3 separate regions of the Homo sapiens genome follow, and regions 1 and 3 are each linked to region 2. Evidence: promoter capture Hi-C in human tissues and cell types (Jung and others, 2019). All regions are on one chromosome and are shown on one strand. The core of a region is centred on a gene start or on the middle of the fragment in contact, and the rest is flanking DNA. Distances in the headings are between cores, read along the strand shown. Region 1 overlaps LOC105378036 (a long non-coding RNA gene). Region 2 holds the start of UTRN (utrophin). Region 3 has its middle 10 kb from the start of STX11.

What was found. The method cuts DNA at HindIII sites, captures the fragments that hold promoters and counts their contacts. A contact is called where the count stands out against the background at its distance.
Region 1: a contact is called between a fragment that was not itself captured here and the fragment with the promoter of UTRN in region 2, in 2 of the 25 tissues and cell types used here (mesenchymal stem cells and spleen).
Region 3: a contact is called between a fragment that was not itself captured here and the fragment with the promoter of UTRN in region 2, in 1 of the 25 tissues and cell types used here (spleen).

The regions. Positions count from the first base shown.
Region 1 is chr6:144,119,125-144,123,575 of GRCh38, forward strand. The region is part of intron 3 of LOC105378036 (a long non-coding RNA gene); the gene reads left to right. Among named protein-coding and RNA genes, the nearest start is that of SF3B5, 26 kb to the left of the region's middle. The HindIII fragment of the contact is 3,257 bases long and covers 640-3,896 here.
Region 2 is chr6:144,282,945-144,286,958 of GRCh38, forward strand. UTRN (utrophin) reads left to right here and starts at 2,391. Exons shown (of 75, transcript NM_007124.3): 1 at 2,391-2,877. It overlaps LOC124901418, which reads left to right and starts at 3,554. Exons shown (of 1, transcript XM_047419641.1): 1 at 3,554-4,014. The coding sequence starts at 3,727. RefSeq lists an enhancer at 1,761-1,830 and silencers at 1,961-2,020, 2,231-2,330. The HindIII fragment of the contact is 2,482 bases long and covers 2,108-4,014 here.
Region 3 is chr6:144,138,380-144,142,651 of GRCh38, forward strand. It overlaps a transcript of STX11 not described here. Among named protein-coding and RNA genes, the nearest start is that of STX11, 10 kb to the right of the region's middle. The HindIII fragment of the contact is 4,534 bases long and covers 371-4,272 here.

The sequences.
Region 1 (4,451 bases), core at 1,018-3,517, 160 kb before region 2:
TAGTTTAACTTGAACAGGACAGGCATTCTTTGCTCGTCCATATTGTCCTTCTGTTGCCTAGACTTCAGGATTAATTCCTTCCTCAAGCAGGGGACAACAAACGGGTGTTCCTTCTCCTATGTTCAGGTGTATATTGGCCCCTGCTTTTGCTAGAATGTCTCTCCCTAACAAGGGAGTGGGACTTTCAGGCATAATTAGAAAAGCATGTGAAAAGAGTAAAGTTCCCCAGTCACAACTTAGTGGCTGGGAGAAGTATCTAGTGACTGGCTGTCCTAGGACCCCTCGGATGGTGACAGATCTGGAGGACAGTTGTCTGGGACAGGAGAATAAGACTGAGAAGTCCATGCCAGTGTCCAGGAGGCAGTTAACCTCCTGGCCCTCAATGGTCAAGCATACCTGGGGATCTGTGATGGTGATGGCATGGGCTGGCGCTTGCCCCGGCCACCCTTAGTCATGCTGCTGGATCATCTGGTTAGTGGCTTCTGACTCAGAGGACCTTCGTCCTCTGGGGCAGTGGGCCTTCCAGTGATTCCCTTGACATAAGGGGCATGAATGAGGGGGCGGCTTATTTTTATTTGGACAATCTTTTTTAAAGCATCCTTGTAGACCACACTGGAAGCAAGCCCTATTAGGCATTTGATTTGCCCAGCTTTTCCCTTTTCTAGAGCCTCCAAAGTCCTCTTGCCTGAGAGCCATGACTAAAGCGGTGGCCTTTTTTTTAATCCCGTTTGTCCCGTTCTGCCTGCTCCTCCTGATCTCTATTATAAAAAACCAAGGTGGCCAAGTTCAATAGGGTTTCTAAGTTTTGCTCTGGGCCTAAGGCGGACTTTTGAAGTTTTTTCCTAATGTTTGCAGCTGACTGAGTGATAAACTTATCCTTTAAGATAGGTTGGCCTTCAATAGAGTCAGATGACAGAGAGGTATGCTTCCTCAATGCCTCCCTTAGTCTCTCCAGAAAGGCAGTAGGATTTTCTTCCTCTCCCTGTGTTATAGTGGACATTATTGAATAATTTATAGGCTTTTTCCTAGTTTTCCTTAGTCCTTCTAGCATGCAAGTTAACAAATGTCTGCGGCACCAATCTCCATGTTCTGATTCTGTGTCCCAGTCAGGGTCTACACTGAGAACTGCCTGCTGGCCTGTGGGGAATTGTTCTTTCCTCTGTTGTCATCCTATCATTGACCTGACTGAGATATCAGAGATCGCCAAACTCTCGGGCTGCAGTTATGGTGGCACTTCTCTCATTTGTGATTAGTATCTGATCCAGCAGTAACATTATATCTCTCCATGTCAGATCAAAGGAGTGTCGTACCTTTGTAAAACATCAATATAGCCATCAGGGTTATCTGATAATTTACCTAGGTCTATTTTAATTTGCTTCAAATCTGAGAGAGAAAAAGGTACATGCACTCCGGCTGGGCCGAATTCTCTTCCTCCCACGACTTGGAGGGGGCATAATTGGGGAATATTGGCACTTTTTGGTTCATTGTTTACCCCTTTGTCTATCTTCTTTTGGACCGTTTGGGTTGAAGGGGGGTCCTTATTTGTTGGGAAAGGAGTCAGGGGGACACCGGGATAGGGAGGTAGACTCTGAGGGCTTCCTGTAGGGCATAAATCACACTTTTTACATAATTGCGAGTTGTCTCTTAATGAAAAGAAAGTTTGTACATATGGCACTTCACTCTATTTGCCTTCTTTTCTACAAAAGAGGTCTAGCTGTAAGATGGTGTTATAATTTATACTTTCCTCAGGAGGCAAGATTTCTCCCCCTTGAAGAGAATATCTTGGCCAGGCGGTACTGCAGAAGAATATAAGTTTTTTCTTTCTTAGCGTCTGAGGGTCAAATTGGTCCCAATTCTCCAGAATACATCTTAGGGGCATTTTTGCCTTGGGGGGAAAGTTTCCCATTGCTTTGGAGGTCCCTTCATGGTCACCAAAAAGTTACTGGGGGTTCTTGTTCTTAGAGCTCCCAAGATGGTGGCAGGCCGCTTCCAAGATGGCAGCAAGCCTCTTGTTCTCTGACTTGGGGTTCTTGGCCTCACGGATTCCAAGGAATGGAATCTTGGGCCATGTGGTGAGTGTTATAGCTCTATTAGAAGCCGTGGGTTATGGAAGAGAACCGTAGAACCCAGCAACTACTATTCAGTTTGCTTAGAATGAACCTGGGCACTTAGCCGTGCAGGAACAATGGCAAGCTTTTAGCCAGATTGGGAGTGGCAATGGGCGTCTCGCTGGATCATAAGCACAGCGGAAACCCTGCTGGATCCGGAGGGGTGGAAGTCAGCGGTGGGTCTGCGACAGTGGCAAACAGCAGTGGTGGATGGTGAGTGAAAGCTCAGCTCAAGCCGTAACAAACACGGACCAGAAGAGTGTGCAGTTGCAAGATTTAATAGAGTGAAAACAGAGCTCCCATACAAAGGGAGGGGACCCAAAGGGGGTTTCCCTATCTTTCATTTTTTTGATAACAGCCATTCTAAGAAATGTGAGGTGATATCTTATTGTGATTTCAATGTGATGATGATTAGTGATATTGAGTTTTTAAAAAATATATCTATTGGCCATGTGTATGACTTTTTTACGAGAAATGACTGTTCAGGTCCTTTATCTATTTTTAAATTGGATTATTTGTTTTCTTAGTATTGAGTTGTTTGAGGTGTTTCTTAGCATCTATTGTTTGAGTTCCTTGTATATTTTGCATATTAACCCCTTATCAAATGTATGGTGTGCAAATATTTTCTTCCATTCTGTAGGTTGTCTCTCCACACTGTTGATATTTTCTTTGCTGTGCAGAAGCTTCTCAGTTTGATGTAATCTCATTGATCTATTTTTGCTTTTGTTGCCCCTGCTTTGGAGGTTATAGCCAAAAGATCATTGCCCAGAACAATGTCATGGAGCTTTTGTCTTCTGGTATCTTCTAGTAGTTTTACAGTTTCAGGCCATATGTTTAAGTCCTTAGTCCACTTTGAATTGATGTTTTGCATATGGTGTGAGATAAGGGTCTAATTTAATTCTTGTGCATGTAGGTATCCATATTTCCCAACGCCATTTACTGAAGAGACAGTTCATTTTTCATTGTGTTTTCTTGGCATCTTTGTCCAAAATCAATTGAGAGTAAATGTGTGAATCTATTTCTGGGCTCTCCATTCTGTTCCATTGGTCTAAGTGTCTGTTTTTATGCCAGTACCATGATGTTTAGATTATTATAGCTTTGTAGTATATCTTGAAGTCAGGTAGTATGATGCCTCCAGCTTTGTTCTTTTTGCCCAGGATTTCTTTGGCTATTTGGGGTCTTTCATGGTTCCATATGAATTTTAGGACTGTTTTTTTCTATTTCTCTCAAAAATGTCATTGGAATTTTGATAGGAATTTCACTGAATCTGTAATTCACTCTGGGTAGTATGGACATTTTAACTATATTAATTCTTCTAATCCAGGAATGTGAGATATCTTTCCATTTATTTGTGTCTCCTTCAATTTTTTTCATCAGTGTTTAATAGTTTTCAGTGTACAGATCTTTCACCTCCTTGGCTAAATTTACTCCTATTTTATTTTTTGATGCTACTGTAGATGGGATTGTCTTTTTAATTTCTTTTTCAGATAGCTCATTGTTAATGTGTAGAAACACTACTAATTTTTGTATATTGATTTTGTATCCTGCAATTTACTGAAACTTTTTTTAGTTCAACAGCTTTTTCTTGGTGGTGTCTTTAGGGTTTTTGGTGTATAAGATTACGTTGCCTGCAAACAGAGACAATTTTTTTCTGATTTGGATGCCTTTTATTTCTTTCTCTTGCCTAATTGCTCTGGCTAGGACTTTTAATTATCCCACAGAGTTTCTGGTGGTCAGAAATCTGAGGGTGGTTTTGCTTGTTCACTGTTGGTGGTAGCATGCTACTGTGTGGCCTCTGGAATCCTATCATCTCCATGACTACTAGGGACCCTAGTTCTGAAATAGCATCTCTTATCATCAACTCTGGTCTACAGAGGAGAGCCACCACTCACCTCAATGACACTGGTGTCCTCTACCAGCAATTTCCTTATTGCCTTGATGCATAAGTCCTCCATACTCTTTCAAGAATCATATTTAGCTGATAAGTTTCCAGTTTCACATAGTAGACCCTGTTTAGCATGTACACTTTGGTGGGCCTTTCAATCCCTTCCTCCACTCTGCCTGGCAACTCTGGCACCTCCACTTGATTTAATAGGGGCCACTGCTCTTACAATCTCCTGAAGTCCATCCCAACTAGAAAAACTATTGGCTTGATTGATAGTTTATTTTCATTTCACCCATATATTTCACTAAACTTTCTTCTGGCTTAGGATTCAGCTGGAGTGATGTGTGATCCTGAGCTCTGATTGGTGTTCCAATTTTTCCCATAAAATTGAGGTTAATACAAAGTGCATGAGATCATTATAATCAGCTCAGTAAAAAGAACTGTGGGCACAAGAAGAG
Region 2 (4,014 bases), core at 1,141-3,640:
GCTGGGATCACAGGTGTGAGCCACTGCACCCAGTCAACAAGAATTTCTTTAGCCTCTTTTGCTCATTACCTACAAAGAGCATCAGTCTCTGCCTGGAGAGAAGGGCTAGAAACAGATAGGGCACAGGTCCCCAGGTAACTGGCTGTAAGCCACTATGGCTGATATGCGGGGCAGGTCACTCCTGCACAGAAGGTGGCTTGTTGGCCTCCTGTTCCATCTCTTACAGGCGTTGAGGAAGCTCGACTAAACATCTCCTCACAGCTTACAATCCCAGAAATCATAGGACCCTAAACGTGCGTTTTTCAAAATTTTTGAGCTAAAATGATGTATTACTTTGTAAATTGTGAAAAGTGTCACAAATATTAATTTAAGTGACAACATCATCAAACACTCCAATGTGGCCTTATTATCTATTTTGAAGGAGAAAATCTGAGTTTCATCAACTCAACCAGGATACAGTGAGTGATAAGCAACTTTTGGTGTCTGCAAAATGATCAGTTAAAAAAAACCTGGGGGCTGGGCACGGTGGCTCATGCCTGTAATCCCAGCACTTTGGGAGGCCCCGTCTCTACTAAAAATACAAAAAATTAGCAGGGCGTGGTGGTGGGCGCCTGTAGTCCCAGCTACTAGGGAGGCTGAGGCAGGAGAATGGCGTGAACCCAGGAGGCGGAGCTTGCAGTGAGCGAGATCGCGCCACTGCACTGCAGCCTGGGCAACTGAGAGAGACACTGTCAAAAAAAAAAAAAAAAGAAAGAAAGAAAGAAAGAAAAAATCCTGGAGTCCCTCTATGTGACCATACTCAGCTAGCACTTGATCTGTTCTTTTCTTATGGCATTTATCTCCCGGATCTTGTATATACTTACTTGTTTACATGTCTTATCTCACCTACTACATTCCAAGTTCTTTAAGGGTAAGATCACTATCAGATTTATCTTTGCTTTACCCACAGAACCAGCAAACCTGACAGCCCTAAACTGATGCTTGTTAAATGAATGAATGAAGTGAATGAATAAAATCATACCCATTTCAAGTTAATCCTTTGGATTTTATTTGGCTTATACGTAGAAAATCATCAAAAGGAAGGAAACTGTCCTAGAAACCTTACAAGGAAGAGTCTCTTTTGGGAATCTCCTACCTGCCCCCTCCCTGGAGCACTTAGGGATGGATGGGGGAAACTTTCACTATAACAAAAGGCGAGTAAACTCTTTCTGAAAATTAGTTTAAGGCCCCTAGTGGTTTAATCTTTACTGCCGCGTAAATTAACTCAAATATTAAGCCAGCAATAAACCGGCGCTCCAGTATCAACCATCCTTTTCTCTGTTAATACGAACTAGGAACTCAGGTTGCTGTTTTCTTTCCCCTCCCACGTGTGCTGATCGTGTAAAAGAATCACAGGAACACACGAGCAATGAAATGTGTAAATAAGAAAAATGCACACACATCACGAGCTCATTTCTTCCCAGATATTTTTTGGTCAACCTCTCAAGCTTGGAACAGGCTCTATAACAGATGTGCGTTTGTGTGTGCATATTGGAAAACAGAAAAATAAGGTCAGCGCAAACACTACTTGTAATACAAACTAATGTAAGAGAAAACTTCTTTTTCAATATTAACAACGACACTAGAGAAATAATGTAAAATAAATATACGGTTGGAACTAGGGGTAAAAAAAAAATCAGCAACGTCAGCAAACTGAGATGGGGTGAGTTGGAAGGCAGATTGGAATTTATCTCTTAAAAAAATATCACCCTAACTAGAGACCTGTTTTGCCTAAGGGGACGTGACTCACATTTTCGGATAATCTGAATAAGGGGAATTGTGTCTGCTCGAGGCATCCATTCTGGTTCGGTCTCCGGACTCCCGGCTCCCGGCACGCACGGTTCACTCTGGAGCGCGCGCCCCAGGCCAGCCAAGCGCCGAGCCGGGCTGCTGCGGGCTGGGAGGGCGCGCAGGGCCGGCGCTGATTGACGGGGCGCGCAGTCAGGTGACTTGGGGCGCCAAGTTCCCGACGCGGTGGCCGCGGTGACCGCCGAGGCCCGGCAGACGCTGACCCGGGAACGTAGTGGGGCTGATCTTCCGGAACAAAGTTGCTGGGCCGGCGGCGGCGGGGCGAGAGCGCCGAGGGGGAGCCGGAGCGCTGCAGAGGCGCGGGCCGGAGGGCTGGCGCTGATCTGCACCCTTCTCATCTGGAGAGCGGACCCCTGGCTGCCCGGAGGCGAGCCCCTTCCCGGGGGGTGGGGGCGGCAACGCGCGACCCAGCGGTCCTGCGCCCCACCCTCCCTCCTCCGCCTCCAGCGCTCGGCTCCAACAAAGGGGCAGGCCCGCAGCGGGGAGGAGGAGGAGGAGCCGCCGAAGGAGCGAGCCTCTCTCGCGCACAAAGTTGTGGAGTCGTTTTTCCTCGGAGCAGGGAAGCGGGCAGCAGCAGCCGGCCGCGGGCTTTCTCCCGCCGAGGGGCGAGGAGGAGCCTCTGGCTCCAGAAGCCGATTGGGGAATCACGGGGAGCGGCGCCCCCCTTCTTTTGGGTCATTTCTGCAAACGGAAAACTCTGTAGCGTTTGGCAAAGTTGGTGCCTGCGCGCCCCTTCCAGGTTTGCGCTTTGACTGTTTTGTTTTTGGCGGAACTACCAGGCAGGAAGATTGCACAAGTAAGGGGCGTTTTCAGTCGGGTGTCAATTTCTCTTTCTTTCTTTCTTTTTTTAAAATTTCGGTTCGTGTCTGCTTCTCCAAGCTTTATTTTTTTTTTTAAATACATCGCACCACCAAACTAACACTCGCACACACCCCCGCGGTTACTCCGTGTCAAACTCCTAGAGGAGCCCTTGGCCAGCTCGGGGTGCGGCGGTGGCGACCGGCAGGCGAGGAGGCCCGCGGGCAGCAGGTAAGCCCATGCATTATTGAAGCCTCGGGCTGGTAATGTGACTACAGCCCCCGAGGGAATGGGGCGGGGGCCGGGAGGAGGATGGCTCTTTCTGTGGTTCTTCCGCCTGGGATCGGCGTCCCGAGCTGCTTCCCAAGTCCCAGAGTCGAAGATGGGAGTAACTTTTGCGTGCCCTTTCCTCGGGGCCTCAGTTTAGCTCCCCGCGGTGCGAGAGAGAATGCCGGAGGCGTGGAGAGCTCGGGCGTGGAGGTCCTTGGGATCCGTACTAGTTGTGAACGATCCAAACTTATCTGACCAGCTCTGTGCTGCCTCCCTGCTCCCCTAATCTTCCTCCCCGCCGGGGTGACAGAGTCGCCCTCCGTGCATCGCGCGGTGCAGGGCGCTGGGCCAGTGATTTGCAAGAGGGGACGTGGCCTCTTAGGAGAGTCTGTCACAGACACCCGGGCCCGGGGAAGGCGGGGCTCCGGCGGTGTCCACAGGAGAGGGTGGGCAGAGGGTGGCTGTGTGGTCGGCGGCCAGCGGAGCGCTTCCCAGCCAGCCGCCCGGCGGGGAACGTGCTTGACCTCTGGGTGGTTGCTGCTCCCAAGGGTGGGGCTCCGGAGAGTGTGGCGCGATCGCCAAGCTCCCTGGCAGCGGCCCTGGAGAGACTGAGGGGACAGGAGGAGGGGGGCGCCCCATTGGTGTGTAGTCCCGCGCAGTCGCCGGCTCTCCTTTTCCGGACTCTGGGGATCTCTTGCTGCAACTGACAAGGTAATTCATGCCCCGCTTTGGCCCGGGGTCCGAGGCTGTGGTTGCTCAAGGCCACTTAAAAACCAACAAAGCACCAATTGAAGGCTGTGCAACTTTCAGATGGCAGGTTGTTCAAAGGATTTTTTCCTCCAAGCCTCAGATTATGAAAGGGACTCATTCCAGTGCGTTTTTCGAGGAGGAGGGAGAAAACGTTGCCCGACCTCCGAGAGAGCTGTGGGACCAGCACTTTATTTTACAAGGAACTGCAGAGCTCGGGTTCTAACTCCACGGCCCCGCTCTCTGAGGTGTTCAGGACAGGGCCTCCTCTTTCCCAGCCTTCAGGTCAGCCGGATCACCAGGGCCTTGCGGGCCAGTTCCCCCTGCCGCGGTTGGGAGGGTCAGTGCAGC
Region 3 (4,272 bases), core at 1,388-3,887, 140 kb before region 2:
TGCCTTCCTGACAGATGCATTGGGATCAAACCATGGTTGGCCTGGAATTCAGACATTCAATCCAGTCTTTTTTCTATACCATGCTTTTCCACATAGCACAACCATAACTACCTGCCCGGCATTTCGAACTATTATTGATGTTTGCAGGAGGTCCAATTGTTCTACAAAATTGAATTTGGATGGTAAGCTAAAAAAATTATAATTCAGGATTATCTGCATACTCCACTTTATAAGTATGCAGTCTCACCATTTACATCTGGTTGACATATGTGTGGCAACAAATCAAAGCCTGGCTCCAAGTAAAGCTCAGGTGATATCTTGGTGATCCGCAGCACTGAAGGCAAATGATAGGACAGCTGAGTCATCATACAGTCTTTAGCAGCACAAGCATGCCTAACGTGAAGCACCTGTACCTCCTGAGTTACCACCACATTCGTGTTTCAAAGGAGATGCATCATACCCAATATTTAAATTCATTAGGACTAAATATGATCATAAATATTGAATAAAAACATTTTCATTAAATTAAATTCATATTTTGGCCTTTTATTTTAGCGAGCATTTTAGATTGATGTCTTATTAATGAACCATGGATTGACGATTCAGGACATATGTATAGTTTAAAAGAGAAAATCAGAACAGGGATAATGAGAGATCCTCAAATGCATGTCTATTATATTCAAAATAAATGGTATTCAAAATATTTGGATATTTTCATATTCAAATATATTCAAAATAAAGAGAATCACATAGCTAACAAGAGAAATACAAAACGCCCAAATGACCTTTTCTACTTTTAGAATAAACTTCCGTGGTTTTGTTTCATCAAAACAATGTTAAATCAATGCTGTTTTATTATTATTATTATTCTGAGTCTGGTCTCATTCTGTGGCTCTGGCTGGAGTTTGGTGGTGCAATTATGGCTTACTGCAGCCTTGACCTCAGGTGATCCTCCCACCTCAGCCTCCCAAGTAGCTGGGACTACAGGCTTGCACCATCACACCTGGCTAATTTTTGCTTTTTTTTTTTTTTCTTGTAGAGACGGGGCCTTGCTCAAGCTGGTCTCAAACTCCTGGGCTCAAGAGATCCACCCATCTTGGCCTCCCAAAGTGTTAGGATTATAGGCATAAGCCACTGTACCCAGTCTACTTTAATATTATTATTAATTTTATGCTTTTAATGTGCAAATTGGTTTGGATTTTATAGTTTTTTAAAGGGTCTACAGCCATAAGGAATTTATAGCTTGTTTATGTTTAAGTAACACTGTGTTTATATTACATTCAAGTAACACTGTGGTAGAAATAATTTGTCAACACTGGGTGCCATATCGGTTTTTTCTTGAAAAGGGGCCCACTCATTAATTTGCAGAGATGCTGTGCCAGGTCTGTGGAAGAAATAGGTGTGAATAAGTCTAGCACCCACATTCGCACTGTAATCAATTATGAATTCCAGTTTGCATGTGGACTTTTGTAAATGTTTCTTTGTGACTAGGGATACAGGGTTGTGGCAAAAGTTCCTGTTTCATAATTCACCTTTCTTCATCACCAAACTGTAGAAAAATAGGGTTTAAAGAAATCAGCTACAGCAGCCTGCTTTCAACACCCTGAGTGAGGCAAGGCCATGTTAGACCCTACCAAAGATCACTCCTCACACCTGGGGCACACAAGGAAAGGAGCGAGGGACTGACAGGAACATCCGTCAGCTTCTGCAAGGTCTCAAAAAGATCATCACCCACAGAGGCAGATGTCTCAAGGAAAGACTGTCCTTTGAATCGGTGAGTTCACTGCTCAGACTTCAACCTGTTTACTCTGCCATTTTTGGTCAATTCACATATATATATATATATATATATATATATATATATATATATATATATTTATTTATTTATTTTTTGAGAAAGAATCTCACTCTGTCACCCAGGCTGGAGTGCAGTGGCACAATCTTGGCTCACTGCAACTTCTGCTTCTTGGGTTCAAGCGATTCTCCTGCCTCAGCCTCCTGAATAGCTGGGACTACAGGCGCACGCCACCACGCCTGGCTAATTTTTGTATTTTTAGTAGAGATGGGGTTTCGCCGTGTTGGCCAGGCTGATCTTGAAATCCTGACCTCAAGTGATCCTCCCATCTTGGCCTCCCAAAGTGCTGGGATTACAGGCATGAACCATCATGCCTGGCCCAATTCATCATTTGAAACAACTTGTTTTTTTTTGGTGCCAGTATTGCACTTTCAAATTTTCTTCAGGGTCATGGAAGGTTGCTAGCAGGCTGTGGTCTGTGAACTCACAGAAACTATAAACCATCCGTGAAGAAGGAATGGGTCCATCTGAAGAGTGCCAAAGGGAAAAGTAAGACAAAGACATGGAGCAGCCTCAAGGGGATGAAATGGATGAAGGGGAGGAAGAAGAGAAGAAAGCCAGATCTCAGCCCCAAAGTAAGGCTTCTTGGCATGGAAGTATAGAGTTTCTAAATAGATGACACAAATTCATCTAAATGAACAGAATATGGCTATACAAATGTTTAATGTATCTGTGAAAATTACACTTGTTGAAAACTAATTATTCACATTCAAAACCAGTATTTCAAGGCTTGTGGCTAAACTAATATCTGTAAAAGGCATGGCTTATGTGTTATATTCTGTTTGTGCTTTTCCGTTTCACTTTTATCTGTTCTGCAGACGAAGGCAATGGTGCAAAAAGGAGTTTACCAGAAATGAGTATTGAGTAACAGTCTGATCTTAAAATACTTTTGCAACTTGTTATGCAAAAATCACAGTTGCAGAAAAATTGGTTTCCATAAAGAGCTATTAAGTGGATCAACTAGATTATCTCTAGATCAGATTTTTTAAAAACCCATTCTCCTTCACAGAAAACTTTTGTTCTATTTGTATACGTTAGAGCAACCAGTACATATCAAACTTCAGGCCTCTTACAAGTAAGCAAATATATCAAAGAAAAGTTTTTACTTAATTGAAATTTGGGTTAAAGTAAAGATGCAATAGTGTCAATTCAGGAATTATAGGCAGGACCACAATTTAACAAATACCAAAATAATACGATTTTTCGCCACATGTTTTCTACCCCTATTGGCGTATCAAGCTTGGAAAAAGAAATGATCTTAGTAAACAACAAGAAATTTGCTTTTCTGTGAGAGTTATCTGTTGCATTCTTTTCTTTTTTTAGTATTTTTTCTAAGCTTACCTTAAGTTCATATTGCCCTTTTGTGCAGATAACAAGATGAAAAAAATCATTTACTTTGGAAAGTCATTATTTTCAGTTTTGTTGTTGTTGTTGTTGTTGTTGTTGTTGTTGTTGTTGTTTTGAGACAGGGTCTCATTCCATTGTCCAGGCTGGAGTGCACTTGTGCAATAATGGCTCACTGCAGCCTCGAATTACTGGGCTTGGGTGATTCTCCCAACACAGCCTCCCGAGTAGCTGGGACTACAGACACCAACCACCACACCTGGCTAATTTCTTTGTATTTTTTTGTAGAGATGGGGTTTTGCCATGTTGCCCAAGCTCATTTTGAACTTCTGGGCTCAAGCACTCTGCCCACCTCTGCCTCCTAAAGTGCTGGGATTACAGGCGAGAGCCACTGCGCCCGGCCTCTTCTGTGGTCTCTAACATTGTTCTTGAATTATTAATGGTGAAGAACCTGGATTTTTGTGTTGCACACTAGTATTTGAGTCTGAAGTCTTCTGCTTGTTGTTTCCTGGACAGTGGACAGGAGGCTATAGGGTTCAGTCTATTCCTCTCTTAAATAGGGTTGAGTTGTGCACATTTCACAAATTTGTGATGAGAAATTAAATAATATACGACGATGTGAATATGGTGCTTAGCACATTGTAACCAAACAATAGTATTGGTTATCTTTAATATTGGTATCAGCATTATTAGGTTTATATTTTTTAATGATCTCATGTTTGCTAAAAATTGTACATTTAAAACAAGCTTCAAGGGATAAAAACTGTGTTGTCTTGTATGTGAGTAATGATGACTTGTTTGCAGTACTGAAACCTTTGCAGATTTCATCACATATCTAGAAGTAATTTAAGATATGCTTATTACATACTGAAATATTTAAAACTTTAACTTATTATATATTGAAATATTTAAAACTTTAACAATTAACTTGATTTTACTTTGTAAATTTACATTTATGGGATAAAGAAAATGTGGTATATAAACACAATGGAATACTATTCCGCCATAAAAGAATGAAATCATGTCATTTGCAGCAAAATGGATGGAACTGAAGGTTATTATTTTAAGTAAAA